Linked DNA regions of Homo sapiens: region 2 is linked to region 1. Evidence: promoter capture Hi-C in 16 types of primary human blood cells and fetal thymus (Javierre and others, 2016). All regions are on one chromosome and are shown on one strand. The core of a region is centred on a gene start or on the middle of the fragment in contact, and the rest is flanking DNA. Distances in the headings are between cores, read along the strand shown.

Evidence for each region. The method cuts DNA at HindIII sites, captures the fragments that hold promoters and counts their contacts. A CHiCAGO score of 5 or more calls a contact.
Region 2: a fragment that was not itself captured here is called in contact with the fragment with the promoter of IL7 in region 1 in 1 of 17 cell types (M1 macrophages); the score reaches 6.5 in M1 macrophages.

Annotation. Positions count from the first base shown.
Region 1 is chr8:78,803,702-78,810,873 of GRCh38, forward strand. IL7 (interleukin 7) reads right to left here and starts at 1,762. Exons shown (of 6, transcript NM_000880.4): 1 at 1,212-1,762. The coding sequence starts at 1,221. MITA1 (metabolism induced tumor activator 1) reads left to right here and starts at 771. Exons shown (of 3, transcript XR_002956715.2): 1 at 771-1,994. The HindIII fragment of the contact is 3,968 bases long and covers 1-3,731 here.
Region 2 is chr8:79,606,199-79,613,133 of GRCh38, forward strand. It overlaps STMN2 (stathmin 2), which reads left to right and starts at 4,919. Exons shown (of 5, transcript NM_007029.4): 1 at 4,919-5,016. The coding sequence starts at 4,998. The HindIII fragment of the contact is 2,136 bases long and covers 2,387-4,522 here.

The DNA of each region.
Region 1 (7,172 bases), core at 512-3,011:
GAAGAAACTGCAGAACTATGGGCATTGCAAGGAAAATAGGGTTGTGCTCAATTTTTAGTTTTGTATTAAGCTCCGGGAGGACATTCCTTAGAAGTCCTCCATAATTACGTTGGCTATTCTTTCCGCTCTCTCTATCTTTGTTTTGTTACTGAGCTGGCACTCCTTGGTTGTGTCAATTCTTGATTCTTTACCCACGAGAGTGGAAAGAAGTCTTGATCTAACGGAGTAGCCATCAAAAGAAAGAGCAGTCAGTTTCCTATTCCCGCACCCTCCCCCCAGCTGTCTTCTTGCTTGAGGAAGTACTTACTGTAAAGCATTCCAATTTTCCTAAGCAGATCTTTTCCCCTCACAATCCTTTTTCCTCTTTTTTAATTCCAGTAAGTTTTTTGGCTCTTTCATTGGTCATATATGACTGCCATCCGAATCCAACCCTCCTGAATTCTGTCCCTGTCCATTCTAAATCCGTATTCTGCACAAATAAGATATATTAGGTCTCAATACTGGTCTGGAAGTTAGAGTCACGCCTATTTCATTCTGCCTCCATCAAGAAGCGCCCGTAGGAAAAAATAACAACAAAAACAAAAACAAAAACAAAAAAACCCAGAAGCTGGCCTTCCTCAGCGCCAGCCCCAGGACTGGTTTCCCAGCAATAGGCGCAAGGTACAGCCCTTGCCGGAAACTCCCAGTCTTACTCAGGGGGGAAAAATGGGGTTTTCCGGAGACCTGTTCCCCTAGGGTTTAAAAGCGCGTCCCGTGGGAGCTTCGCTTTCACTTCTCTAGGGAGTTCTGAGCTGCAAGAGCCCAGCTACTCGCCGAACCCGGGCCGCCTGCGTGAGTAACTTGGGGCGGCCAGGAGCACGGGAAGGGCGCCAGACAGAGAGCCTTTGGCTGCTTCTGAGACCGGCTGTGGGCTGCCACCGCTGAGCGGCGCGGAGGCTGCAGCGTTCCCTCTCAGGACAGAAAGCAGGCGTTGGGGACTGTTACTCGCAGCCTGCCAGGGGCAGCAGCCGCCCCAGGTTCAAGTGGCTATGTGCCAGGATACTCAGGCGCGGCTGTTGGCTGCCCATGGGAGAGCCAGTGCTCTCCGCAGGTCCAAAGTGCAAGGCCGGGCTATTCCCGGACTTGCCTAGGAGCAGGGGCCCCCAGCGCGTCTGGGATTGCCCCGGCGCGTCGGGCGCGCGAACTTGTGCGCAAGGGAGAAGAGCGCTTACCATGGAACATGGTCTGCGGGAGGCGGGCGTAGTCATGATGACCGCAACTGGAGCAGGAGCAAGCTCTCACCGCCCATAGTCACTCCCAGGACCCTGGTCTTCCGCGGAGTTGCCGAGTCTGTGTTGGGCAGGGTGATCTCTGCAGCTGGTTCCTCTTACCCACGCCGCGACTGCAGTTTCATCCATCCCAAGGGGGGCGGCACACACTACGGCGTGGCTCTGCGCTTTGCCTTTTCCATAACTTCCGTAGGATCCGCCAGCAGTGTACTTTCAGTTTCTACTTTGCGCTTGGTCTGCAGGTTCAATCTTTGGGATCATCAGCATGGAATCTTCATTATCCCCTCTCTCCTGGGCACCTGCTTCCCGCGCACCTGGATGAGGACCAGAGGAATTCGCGAATTTCCGAATCACCGCAGGAAAAACCAGCTGGCCTGAATCAAAGCAATTCTGGGTAAAAGACTTCCCAGATGATCTCTCAACGCCTTGGCAACGCTTGGCGACTGGGAGCTAGAACCATGAGTTGTTAATGTGTGCACGGAAGCCACAAGTGTGCAGGACGCAAGCTGGGTTATTGGAAGCGGACGACACCAAGGAGGCGTTGCCGCGGATGTGGTGGACGATGCCAAGTCGTCTTTTAAAAAAGGAAGTGAAGAATGATTAAGAGGGTCACGCCCTCTACCACTCCAACCTCTCTAATCAGTCTCTTTCTGCTCCGTCTGCTGTACATGCACCTGCTCAGGTGAGACCTCAAGGAAAAATAATCCTGTGGGTCCACCTAATCTGGTAAGTGTTGTATTTGGAAAATCAAACCCCAAATTAAACGCAGGACGTGGAAACTGACGATAATATTTAACTATGACTTCCACGTGCACATTTATCTGAATTGGCTAATAAATCAAACTATTCGTCTTGAATGCATGCCACTGAAATGTTAACTTTTTCCTGGGCTTGAATTATGTAGCTTATTTGCTACATTAGTTTGGTTTCTGCTATTCTGCAGAAACCCTGCTTAGATGAAGGTGGATAATGTAAACCAGTAACAACAGCGATAATAATAACGACTATCATTTATCTAGCATTTGCTCTCTGCCAGTTTTGTGCTAAGCATTTTATGTATATCATCTCATGCAAAACTTTGTGTGAGGTAGACCATTTTCTTATCTGCACTTTACAGATGTGGGGACTGAGACTTCCTTAAGTAACTTTCCAAATTTCACTTAGCTAACTGAGCTTAGACACAGACTTGCTGCATTTGGGCTGTAGAAACTCCTGCTTGGAACTCCTGTGAATAAAGTAATAATGTGCACACTGATGCCGGGAGGGAGATGACAGTACGTGTGTGGCTTTGCCCCAGTGTGGGGACTTCAGGAAAGTTTCCTGGAGTCTGTGACTTCTAAACTGACACTTGAAGAGGAATGAACTTGGGGCTGGTAAGGAGTATGTCACATTCTGCTATAGCGTGAACAAGGAAGAGGAGGGAAGGAGAAAGGAAAAAAAAGGATGGCAATGAACTAGGGAGAACAGAGTTGCTCAAGCCTGAAACTTGGGTCTCTGATTCCTTTTTTGGTCTCATTTCCCACATCAAATCCATAGACAAGTCCTGTCTGCCCCACCTCCAAAATTAACCCTAAGGTGACTATAGAGACTGTCTAAGGGATCTTCCAGCTTTCACTTTTGCCCACAACCCCTTCATTCTTCTCAGAGCAGCAGGATATCTGATTCTATTTTGTGCCCCACCTTCTGGTCACTTCCCACTGGGTACCAGGCCCTCAGTGCCCTGGTGATCTGGGCCCCACTGCCCTCTCTGACGTTTCGTGGTACCACATCACTATCCTCCAGCCACAATGGCCTTTCTCTTCCTGCCCAGCGTCCACTTACTATGGTCTTTAGCCCATGGCTGGCATTCAGTAAGTACTGGGGGGTGACAGAGTAAGAGAGAACAGGTGAGTGGGAATGCATCAGTGAATATGTGTGAAAGAGAAAGTTCATGAAAGCAGAAGGAAATAGAATGAAAGAGGAAGCGAAGGGGGTAAGCAAATGGAAAAGAGAGACAGAATGGAGTGAGAAAAGCCACATATTTCCATTTGACTGGAACCTAGAGTGGGAGGTGGGGAGGAGGACAGACATGACACTGGAGTGAGTTTTAAAAATGATTTCTATAATGAAACACGCCTAGGTTGGGGATTTATTTATTTATTTATTTATTTATTTATTTATTTATTTATTTTAAATCCCTGACAGCAGCATTGAAGTATGTAACTGTTCATAGCCTGCACCTTTTTCTTTTTTTAACTTTCCAGGAACAAAGTAAAAGAGCATCCATCAATACTTTGCACAAAAGGAAATCCGTCTTCCTTTTATCACAATCACCATAAATCCAGGTAGAATAAGGGTTGTACATATCTGAACTTTTGGGAAGCATGAAAGGAAGTTATTCAGAGCTGCAGGAAAGGCAATGTAAATGTTACACTGGATTCTGCCCCCAACTATAAAGAATCTTTCTGAAGAGAATATTCATAAAGCTTTGGGAATTGTTAGGGTTATATGAAATGGGCACATTCTAACAACATCAAGTAATGATTTTTTTTTTCTGTCTGTGAGATAATTAATACCATTTAGAAAAAAATCCAAAATGAAGTCTTAAATTAGCTTTTGATATTTTGATAAACTGAATATTATTTTTTATAAGATAGATGGACAAGAATAAAATGTTTATAAATTTTTAAAATGCTAATGTTTTATGATTAAAGAAATGGAATGGTTACTATTATGTTTGCTCATAGACTCAATGAACTGGACAGAAAAGCCTTTAAGGGAGAAAATAGTAAATACATTTTATGAATTATGGTAAATAAATTTTAAAAGAGAAGACAACATTCTCAGAATGATCAATATAATGTATTAGAAGAAGTTCAAATAAAATTATATGATGTCAATTTAAAGAGAAAATTATTGAACATTAACCAATATCTTTTAATGTTCTACAGTCTTCAGTCAGAATAGTCAATTATTGTAAACCAGAAAATATTTTTTGATTAATATCTGAACTATTTTTACCCAACTTAATATGACTACTTTTTGTAGTCTGTGATATGAATTCTATCTATCATTCTATCTATGGGTAGTATGAAGTTCTTTTTATTTAACTTTCCAGTAATAACATTCAACATATTTAAAACACACACACAGCGCCACACAGCCAACATTATGGATATATGATCTGTGTAATTGGCACAGGGCCTTGTACTTCATTTGATGCTCTGCTGTCACTGTATTGAAATTCCTCATTTTTAGATAAAGGGACTCTTATTTTCATTTTGCACTGGGTTTCAAAATTCTATAATGGTCATGCACACTCACACATGTTAAGTTACACATTGTGGATAGCAGTGTATGTCTTTGAGGTGATTTCAGTTTGGTGGGAAAAACAGATGTTAAATATCTAATTTCAAAGATGAAAAATATCATTAAAAGAGAAACATGATATATTATTTGAATCAGAAGTTTAAAGTAGTATAGGCCCATTTTCATAGTTAAATGAGGATCAATAAAGGTTAATTTATCTGTCCAATAAACAAGCAGCTATGAGAGGATGACCTGTAATTTGATAAAATTTAAATTTTACCAAATGACTAATGAGCGTCTATTTACATGGTCATGGTTTTTTTGCTGAATTCCTAAATAAACCATAAATTTAACATAATGCAACGTTCAAATTGGTAATATTTAACCTAGAATTTTACAGTTATAGTCATAATTGGGTTATGTTTATTTTTAATTTTATATTCAACTGATACTGGGCTAGTTTTGTCCAGTTATGCTAGTTTCATAAAATAAATTGGAAATTCTATTGTTTTCTAAAACTGTCAACTGTTAAACATGTGAACTATTTGTTTCTGGCAGACTTACTAGAGTTCAACAATAAAACTTACTTGATTCCGTGGATGAAGCCCAGGAATAGGACGAGACTGTCAGTTTTGAGCATTACAAGTGAGAAAATGAAGAAGGGTTTATTTTGAAGGCTGAATCAAAATAGCCATGTCAGACTGTCAGAACTTTGCTGGAGATGGGTATGTTAGCATATCAGTGATGGCCAGAGCCATGGAAATGAATGCAATTACTCAACCTGCATGTTAGAAGACAGAAGAGAGAACTAATGCTAGCAGGAATCTTGAGGCATGAGCAACCCTAAAAAGTAGCTGGAGAAAGGGGTGCCCATCAACAAAACAGACGAATACATAGTAGGCAGCAAAGTGGGAAAGTCAGAAGTCAGTGTCTCAGAAGGCAACGGAAAATAGAATTTCAAGATAGAGTAAGTAGCCAGTATTTCCAAATGTCACAAAGAGGTTGAATAAGATAGAGACTGAAAAGTGTGTCTATTAAATTTGGCAGAGCAGAGATTGTCCATGATCCTCATGGCAACAGTTTGAGAAGAGCAGTGTAGATGCAAATAATATACTAGCTTGCAGGGGTTGAGAGAAGAAAGAAATAAAGTAAGAGAATATAACTTTTACAAAATGTTTGGTAATAATAAAAGGGATAGGGTAATGATTTGAAAGGCATGGAAGTTTTTATTTTCAATTATTAGAAACACTTGAGCATATTTATATATTAATGGATAAAATTAGGTTCTGCAGAACGGGGAAAGCATGGAACCAAGAAACCCAAGATACTCTGTTGATTTCTTTTCTTATTTTCTCTCCATTTCTCCCTCCTCTTTAATTTCAGTCCCAAAATTCTATAATTCTAAACAATCAGAATCCACTCTCTATCTGGGGTCTAAATTTATGTTCCTTACTGAAATGTTCCCATCGGCACTCATCTAATTCTGGATTGAGTATTGGCTTGTCTAAGAAAGAAGTCTAATATTTCCCAAATCGCCTTTCAGAGAGGGCCGCTGTAGCTTTTACATAGATTTGCATTATCCAATCCCTTTATATGCTAATGTTGCATTGTTGGCAATCAGGGCTTTCTTTTATATACAGTCTTGCATCATTTAACAATATATTCCGAGAAATGATAAATTAACCTTTGCTTACTCTAACTATTTTTACTTTATAAACTTTTATTTTTTTCCAACTTTTTGACTCTTGTCATAACATTTAGCTTAAAACACAAACACATTGTACAGCTGTTGAAAATATTTTCTTTCTTTATATCCTTATTCTATATGCTTTTTTCTTACTTTTTAAACTTTTTTGTTAGAAACTAAGACACAAACACACATATTAGCTTAGGCCTACACGGGGTCAGGATCATCATCACTGTCTTCCATCTCCACATCTTGTCCCACTGGAAGGTGTTCAGGGACAATAACATGCATGGAGCTGTCATTTCCTATGATAGCAATGCCTTCTCCTGGAATACCTCTTGAAGGAGCTGCCCGGGCTGTTTTACTGTTAACTTTTTTTTTAATAAGTAGAAGGAGTACAATCTAAAATAATGATAAAAGTATAGTAAAAGCATAAACCAATAACATAATTGTTTATTATCAGGTGTTGGGTGCTGTACAGTATTGCATGTGGTATACTTTTATAGGACTGGCAGTGCAGTAGGTTTGTTTATGCCAGCATCACCACAAACACATGAGTAATTGGTTGTGCTAAGTTGTTACAATGGCTACAATGTCACTAGGTGACAGACATTTTTCAGCTCCATTGTAATCTTAGACCACTGTCCTGCAGGCAGTTCTTTGTTATACAGTGCATGACTGTACTAGATTTTGGAGGGACTATGCTTTCAACCACTGCCTTTATAGAAGATTAATTAGAAAAGAATACACCTACAACAAATTTCTTCATGCAAACTGAAAAAAATGTAAACATATTTTGTTTAAATCACTGGATAGATTCCCTTTATATGATCCAGTTACTATATGAAGATGTCAACTTGTTCTTATGAGCTCTTGGAGAGCAGTTACTATCTTTTTCAACCTGGAATTCTCTGTAGTCAACAGAATAT
Region 2 (6,935 bases), core at 2,205-4,704, 800 kb after region 1:
TTTCTATTTTTTAGTAGAGACGGGGTTTCACCATGTTAGCCAGGATGGTCTCGATCTCCTGACCTCGTGATCCACCCGCCTCGGCCTCCCAAAGTGCTGGGATTACAGGCGTGAGCCACCGCACCCGGCCGAGTTCAAGTCTAATGTTACTGTCAAAGTAAATATTTGATGAAATTGATTTTTAAAAATACTACCTACATCCGTTAATTCAATTCCATTTGATAACACAGCAGGATGTGGGTGGGGGAAGTTCAGAGGGTCAGAAAATTAGTTAATAAATGACTAATGAGAAAATCTCCCAGGAAGGCAGTATACTAAAATGCTTTTGCTTTTCTCTTCCCTAAATCCTCCTCCTCCTCTTTTCAGCTTGATTTAGAAAAATAAGGTTCTTAGGCAACTGTTATTGTATGTATAATGCAATGCTCACAGTAGGGGTTCTGTTTAAAAAATAAAATAAATTGAGGCTTGTGGGATAAACAGAGTGAGTCACACTTCTCCCAGATTTCTCTTCCAGGCACTTCAGTGTTGTCTCCACTGTTTGGTTTGTAAACTAAGATGCTGAGTGAAATCTCAAGGGGAACCAACTTCCCAGCTTCAATGGTGTCCAACTAATGTTCTCCCTGGACTCAAGCTGTAAATCAACTCATGGAGAGAAGGAAAAAGTTAGTTACAGTAATTGCTGCCAAGATAGCGAGTAGTTTTCAACATTATCAATTTAATGTAAAGATTCAGCTCATTAAATTTATATCAAGCCTTTCTTATGATTAGAACAAGTTTATTTCCAGAAAAGTTCAATTATAAAACTATCAATAGGATTTACTAATTTCAATAAGTCATTTTGCTTCAGGGTGAATTATACTAATTATTAATACATACAAGTCCCATTTGGACATAAAGAAAACCCTAGGTAGAGAAAAAATAATAATAATTAACTAATCATTGTTTATTTTTAAATAACTAATTTAAGAAGAAAACAATGAAGTGTGTTTGTTCCACACTTCAGAAATAACTCTAACACACTGGCAAATTCCTGAGCAATACAGAGCTCACTGCTAATAAAGAACACCAACTCTCCCTCCTTGGAATGACTTTCCTTTTGAATAAACCATATTAGACAGTTCTATTAAAGGACACATGATCCTTTTTATTTTTCATTAATCTATAAGAATTTAAACATGGCAAAATAATCAAAATGTTAAAAAGTCAACTATTTTTTCATGTGTGATTATTTTAGATGCATCTCTAAATATCTTCAGCTATAACTACTTTATATCCTAAATTTCTAAACATCTAAAAAAATTCAATGGATTTTATCTCTCACATTTCTTTTGTAATCACCTGAGGTCAGATCAAAACAATTAATTTGACCTTAACAATGTTTCTCTTATCTCACTAACTTTTAATAATTACTTTAGGATTCTTTCCCAGGCACTTGATTATGAATAGCAGAAAATCATATGACTGTGTTAGATGGCATCAGCTAATCCTCCAAAGCAACTGCTTCTCTCTGGTTTGGAAAGAAATCAACACCTCAGGCCTCCTCACAGAGATAATACACACTAGGCTATAACCCACAATAATTAAAATTTCTGTTAGCAAGTCTGTGATTTCCACAGCTCCAGCTTACTGCTGGCTGTTAAAGATAACAAAAATTAACAAGGGCCATCTACTATTGTGAGCTCTACTCATTTAGGTTCTTTGGGAATAGGGCAGGATATAAATAAATAAACACTGGTAAACAGCCTAATACCTGCTCCCAACACAAGCTAAGCAAAGGAGGTTAGAAGTGTCAATATGGTCTCACTGGATTCATCCATTTTGAATCATTTTCAACACTGTATTATTTATTATTTCACAAATTGTTTTTAACTGTCTACCACGTGAATCATGAAACCAACCACTAGGAAGGGTATAAAGATATACACTATTCATTCTCTACCTTTCAAAGGTTTAAATGTATTGGAAACACTAAATATAGTCATAGTACTTAAAATTACTATATATCCATGATGGCTTAGACAGTTCATACATGATAACCCTTCAGTCTACCCAAATCCCCACACGACAGATACTGGTTGTCCTTAGTTTATACTGTGCAAATGTAGTACCTATTCTTTGAGTGTCCACCCATTCCCATCAAAACCATTTCCTTCAGGAAAAGCTGATCTCACCTCCAGACCTCTAGGGCCAACTCTATCTATATGGTTAGACGAAACAGCAAATGCACTTTTATTATTAGTGCCAGTTTGGGTTATTTTTTCAAATTTTTGCAACAAAGTGTGATCCACAATACACAAGATCATATTCACTCCCCCAAATTAATATTTTCTTAAAGAGATGGGTGTTATATTTTCCTTCACTTTCTATTTTTCAGACATTAAGGAGAAGCTTGGCTGGCATCACAAAAGCCTGAAACATCATCAAATAAATATTTGTTGAATAAATTAGCTGAACAAATGAATAAGTGAATAACATATTGAATATGAAATAATTTTTCTGTTCATATTTCACCCTTACTTTCCCATGTGAATATGCATGATACCATATTGTAATGATAAAAGAAAACAAAAAACAATTTGATAATGGCACAGCCCTTTGAATTTATTTGTGTTTTCTTAGCTGATTGACAATTTTGCCTACTATCTTTTTATTCTATGGTAAATCATATTGACCTACTCTCTTCCCTGTTTGACATTATTTAAAAATCATTCATAACTGAAGTTAGGTGGCTAACACCTAGAAAATCGGAAATAGAAAAGAGTCACATATGTGACCCTTAGGGCAGTAGAATGAGTGTTTTGTTTTCCTCATAGTCATCAAAAGTGCAATCGATTTCATTCAGCAGCCAACTGCAGTTGTTAAAGAAACTAATGCCATGACTTAGGGCCCTTGTTCTCCAAGGAAGCTGAAGAATGTGTAGAGATGACACACAGCCTGAGGGGAAAGGGTGTGGTGGGGAGAAGAGAAATACTTTGAAAATATTAGTCACACAGACATGCTGAAGATCCTTCACCTCATGAGTGATAACTACTCCAGTGAGAGGTGATTAACTGTTACATTTAAAGTGGGAAATGCCTATATATAGAGAGAAAATGGTTATTTATTTCCAGACCCTGCCAACTTCCATATTGCTCTCTTGCTGTGTCATAGTCACAGACCTGTTCAAAGATAGGAAATATAATTTCTAATCTTCCTGTTCAAGAAATAATTTTATTGATCTCCACTTCATCTTTTATTTTCCCCATGATTCAGCAGGTCAAAACTGTTCCAGTTCCAGTAGCATCCTATCAGTCAGCAAAATGTCCATGAGGTTAAAATGTCTTACAAGTTAATAGGAGGTGAAGAAATTCATTTCAGCACCAAGGAGAGTGCCCTGCTATTTTCAATTGGTTTTATGTATTTGAAACTGTGTATTGTTCCTGAGGATAGAAAAAAAAGTTGAAATGTGATTGGACAGAAAGCTGCTAAAAACCTATTTTAATAAGAAGAAAAAAATACATTCATTTTTCTGAAATTAAAAACTTGCCAGGGTTTCATACCTGTTCATGATTGCAACAATGTGCTCTTCTTTTGGCTTTCAAACGTCGGAATTAGCAATTCTTTGCCTATTTTTCTAATATTAAAACCAGTTTCTGCATGGAATTAGACTGGCTCAATAAAGTTACAGAAGAGTTAAATTAGCAGTAATTAAAAACTTCATGCAGCAACTCCTAAACTTTTTCTCACCATTTTCAGAGCTGTGCACATGGTAAATGCTCAATACATATTTAAGTCAAGTGAAAGAGAACAAATGAATGACTGGCATCCATTAAGTGAGAAGGAGGAACTAATAAATGCCTTGTTTGTAATGAAAGTCATTTTTTGCAACTAGTCTCAAAGATCCTCACATACGACATTGCTCAATCCGAAACTTGAACACAGCCTTCCTGGGCCTACATAAACGTAGTCTCTCTGGATCTCAGAAAAATAATGACCCAGACCACACCTTTCATCTCTTCTAAGTTTTCCATGTAAAGCATTCTCCTTAGAGCCCTGGAAAGGTTACTAAAATTTTGACCCACTTAATCCTACACCTTCAGGGCAACATGGCATTCACCTGTGGTTTCCTTAATGCCCAAACCAGCCAGCCAACCTGTTTTCTGCCGTGTTAACAAATGGACAGGACACAGGCACCAGAGGTTAAACTTTCTTCCTCTTCCCCCATGTCCCCAGGTGGACCATTATTACCATCCCTATTCCCAAGCAACCAGGTAGCCCCTTCCTCTGTGCCAAGGGAAGAAAACACCATGCTTCCCTCTCCTGAGAGACCTTCAAGAGTTTAGAGACGCCTAAGTCCAGCTGTGCTAAAAGATAAAGGACAATAATGCAAGTCTGCTCTGAGCTGCCACCATAGCCAGACATAGGGTAGCCCTGAAAGACTAGAACCAAGGACAGAGCCAAAGGTGAAAGAAAATATGAAAAAGTGAAAACACAGTATTTAAACAGAATTTTCCAACAGCCTGCATATAGTGAGGACTTCTCAAGCTTCTGAATCCTTTTCCATTGAATTGTGCAATGGCACATGTATGAGCAAAGTCAAGCCTCCTGGCTCCCAGGTAGGCACAGCCCAGTTCTTAGCTCCTAGGAAGCTTCAGGGCTTAAAGCTCCACTCTACTTGGACTGTACTATCAGGCCCCCAAAATGGGGGGAGCCGACAGGGAAGGACTGATTTCCATTTCAAACTGCATTCTGGTACTTTGTACTCCAGCACCATTGGCCGATCAATATTTAATGCTTGGAGATTCTGACTCTGCGGGAGTCATGTCAGGGGACCTTGGGAGCCAATCTGCTTGAGCTTCTGAGTGATAATTATTCATGGGCTCCTGCCTCTTGCTCTTTCTCTAGCACGGTCCCACTCTGCAGACTCAGTGCCTTATTCAGTCTTCTCTCTCGCTCTCTCCGCTGCTGTAGCCGGACCCTTTGCCTTCGCCACTGCTCAGCGTCTGCACATCCCTACAATGGCTAAAACAGCAATGGGTAAGGCACTGCGCCTCGTTCTCCGTCGGCTCTACCTGGAGCCCACCTCTCACCTCCTCTCTTGAGCTCTAGAAGCATTCAGAGATATTTTATAAAGAAAAAGATGTTAATGGTAACACAGGACCAGGAAGGACAGGGCAGTTCTGGGGGAGGTGGGAGGGCAGAGAAGAGGTCTATGGAAATCTAAAGCGAAGAATTTCTTTTAAAAGGTAGAAGCGGGTAAGTTGCCCTCCTATGGGTAGAGAATTTATTCTGTTTCCATATTTAAAATTAGGACTCAATCGTGAGGGGAGGAAGCTACCTTAACTGTTTGCCTTAAATGGGCTTAAGGGACATTTTGGAAAGTGCTTTATAACGACCTTTTTTTTTTTTATTTCTTCTCTAGTTTAAGAAGAAAATAGGAAAGGGGTAAAGGGAAGGTGGGAGAAAGGAAAAAGAAAATTGCAAAGTCAAAGCGGTCCCATCCCGCTGTTTGAAAGATGGGTGGAGACGGGGGGAGGGGATGGAGAGAACTGGGCACATTTTACGGTATTGTCTCGTCGAAGAAACCGCTAGTCCTGGGGTGCGGTGCAGGGAGGTAAGACGGCGGGGGACAGGGTGGGGGTAGGACCTCCGCTCCTTTGTTTTAGGGCAAGGGAGGGGAAGGAGAGAGGAAGTCGCGGAGGGCGTGGAGGGCGCGGGTGGGCAGCTGCAGGGGCGGGGAAGCGCGCGGCAGGGAGGGGTGGAGGGACAGCGGCTTCGAAGGCGCTGGGGTGGGGTTTCTTTGTGTGCGGACCAGCGGTCCCGGGGGGAGGCACCTGCAGCGCTGGGCGCACAATGCGGACAGCCCCACCCAGTGCGGAACCGCGCAGCCCCGCCCCCCCGCCCGGTGCTGCATCTTCATTCGAAAGGGGGTCGGGTGGGGAGCGCAGCGTGACACCCAGGAGCCCAACCCTGCGGGGACAGCGGCGCCACGCCCCGCGCTCCCCGCTCCCGACTCCCCGCCGCGGCTTCCAAGAGAGACCTGACCACTGACCCCGCCCTCCCCACGCTGGCCTCATTGTTCTGCTTTTAAGAGAGATGGGAAAAGTGGGTTAACATTTTTCTTTTCGGAAGCAAATTACATAGAGTGTTTAGACATAGACACAGATAAAGGGTTCTTTGAAGACCTTTGATCGTTTGCGGGAAAAGCTTCTAGAACCTAGACATGTGTATGTATAATAATAGAGATGACATGAAATCGTATATAAAGCAAAAGAGGTCAAAGTCTTAAGTTAAGCCACGCGAAATTTCCGTTTTGTGGGTCAGACAGTGCCAAATATCGGCAATTTCATAAGCTCAGAGAGACAAGACAGTGGAGACACAGGATGACCGGAAAAGATTCTGGATTCAGGGCCTTCATCCGCAATTGGTCTTGTGCCTTGAGTGCCCACGGTTCTGGCGCTCAGTGGCCCCGGGGTGAAAAGGCAGGGTGGGGCCTGGGGTCCTGTGGCAGCTGGAAGCACGTGTCCCCCGGGACTTGGTTGCAGGATGCGGAGACAGGGAAAGCTGCCGAAAGGACTCCATCTGCGCGGCTCCGCCCTGCCCTACCCTCCCCGCGGAGCCGGGGAGACCTCAGGCTCCGAGACTGGCGGGGAAGAGGAATATGGGAGGGGCAGTTGAGCTGTATGCAGTCCTGGAACCTCTTTTTTCAGCCCCGCAGTCCACAACGGCCCGAGCACCCCTTGATGTGCGCAGACCCCCGGCGTGGCTCTCAGCCCCAGCACCGAGCCCCTCCCAGCCAAGCGGGTGGCTCTGCAGAAAAGCTGGCTCGAGCCCCGCCCGGCCACACAAAGGCGCGGCCCCACCCAGCCCGGGCGCGAGACCGCAGAGGTGACCCCCTTCCCAGGGATTCAGGGAGGGCTGTCTCTTCTCGCCCACCCACGGTCCGCGGAGCTCGG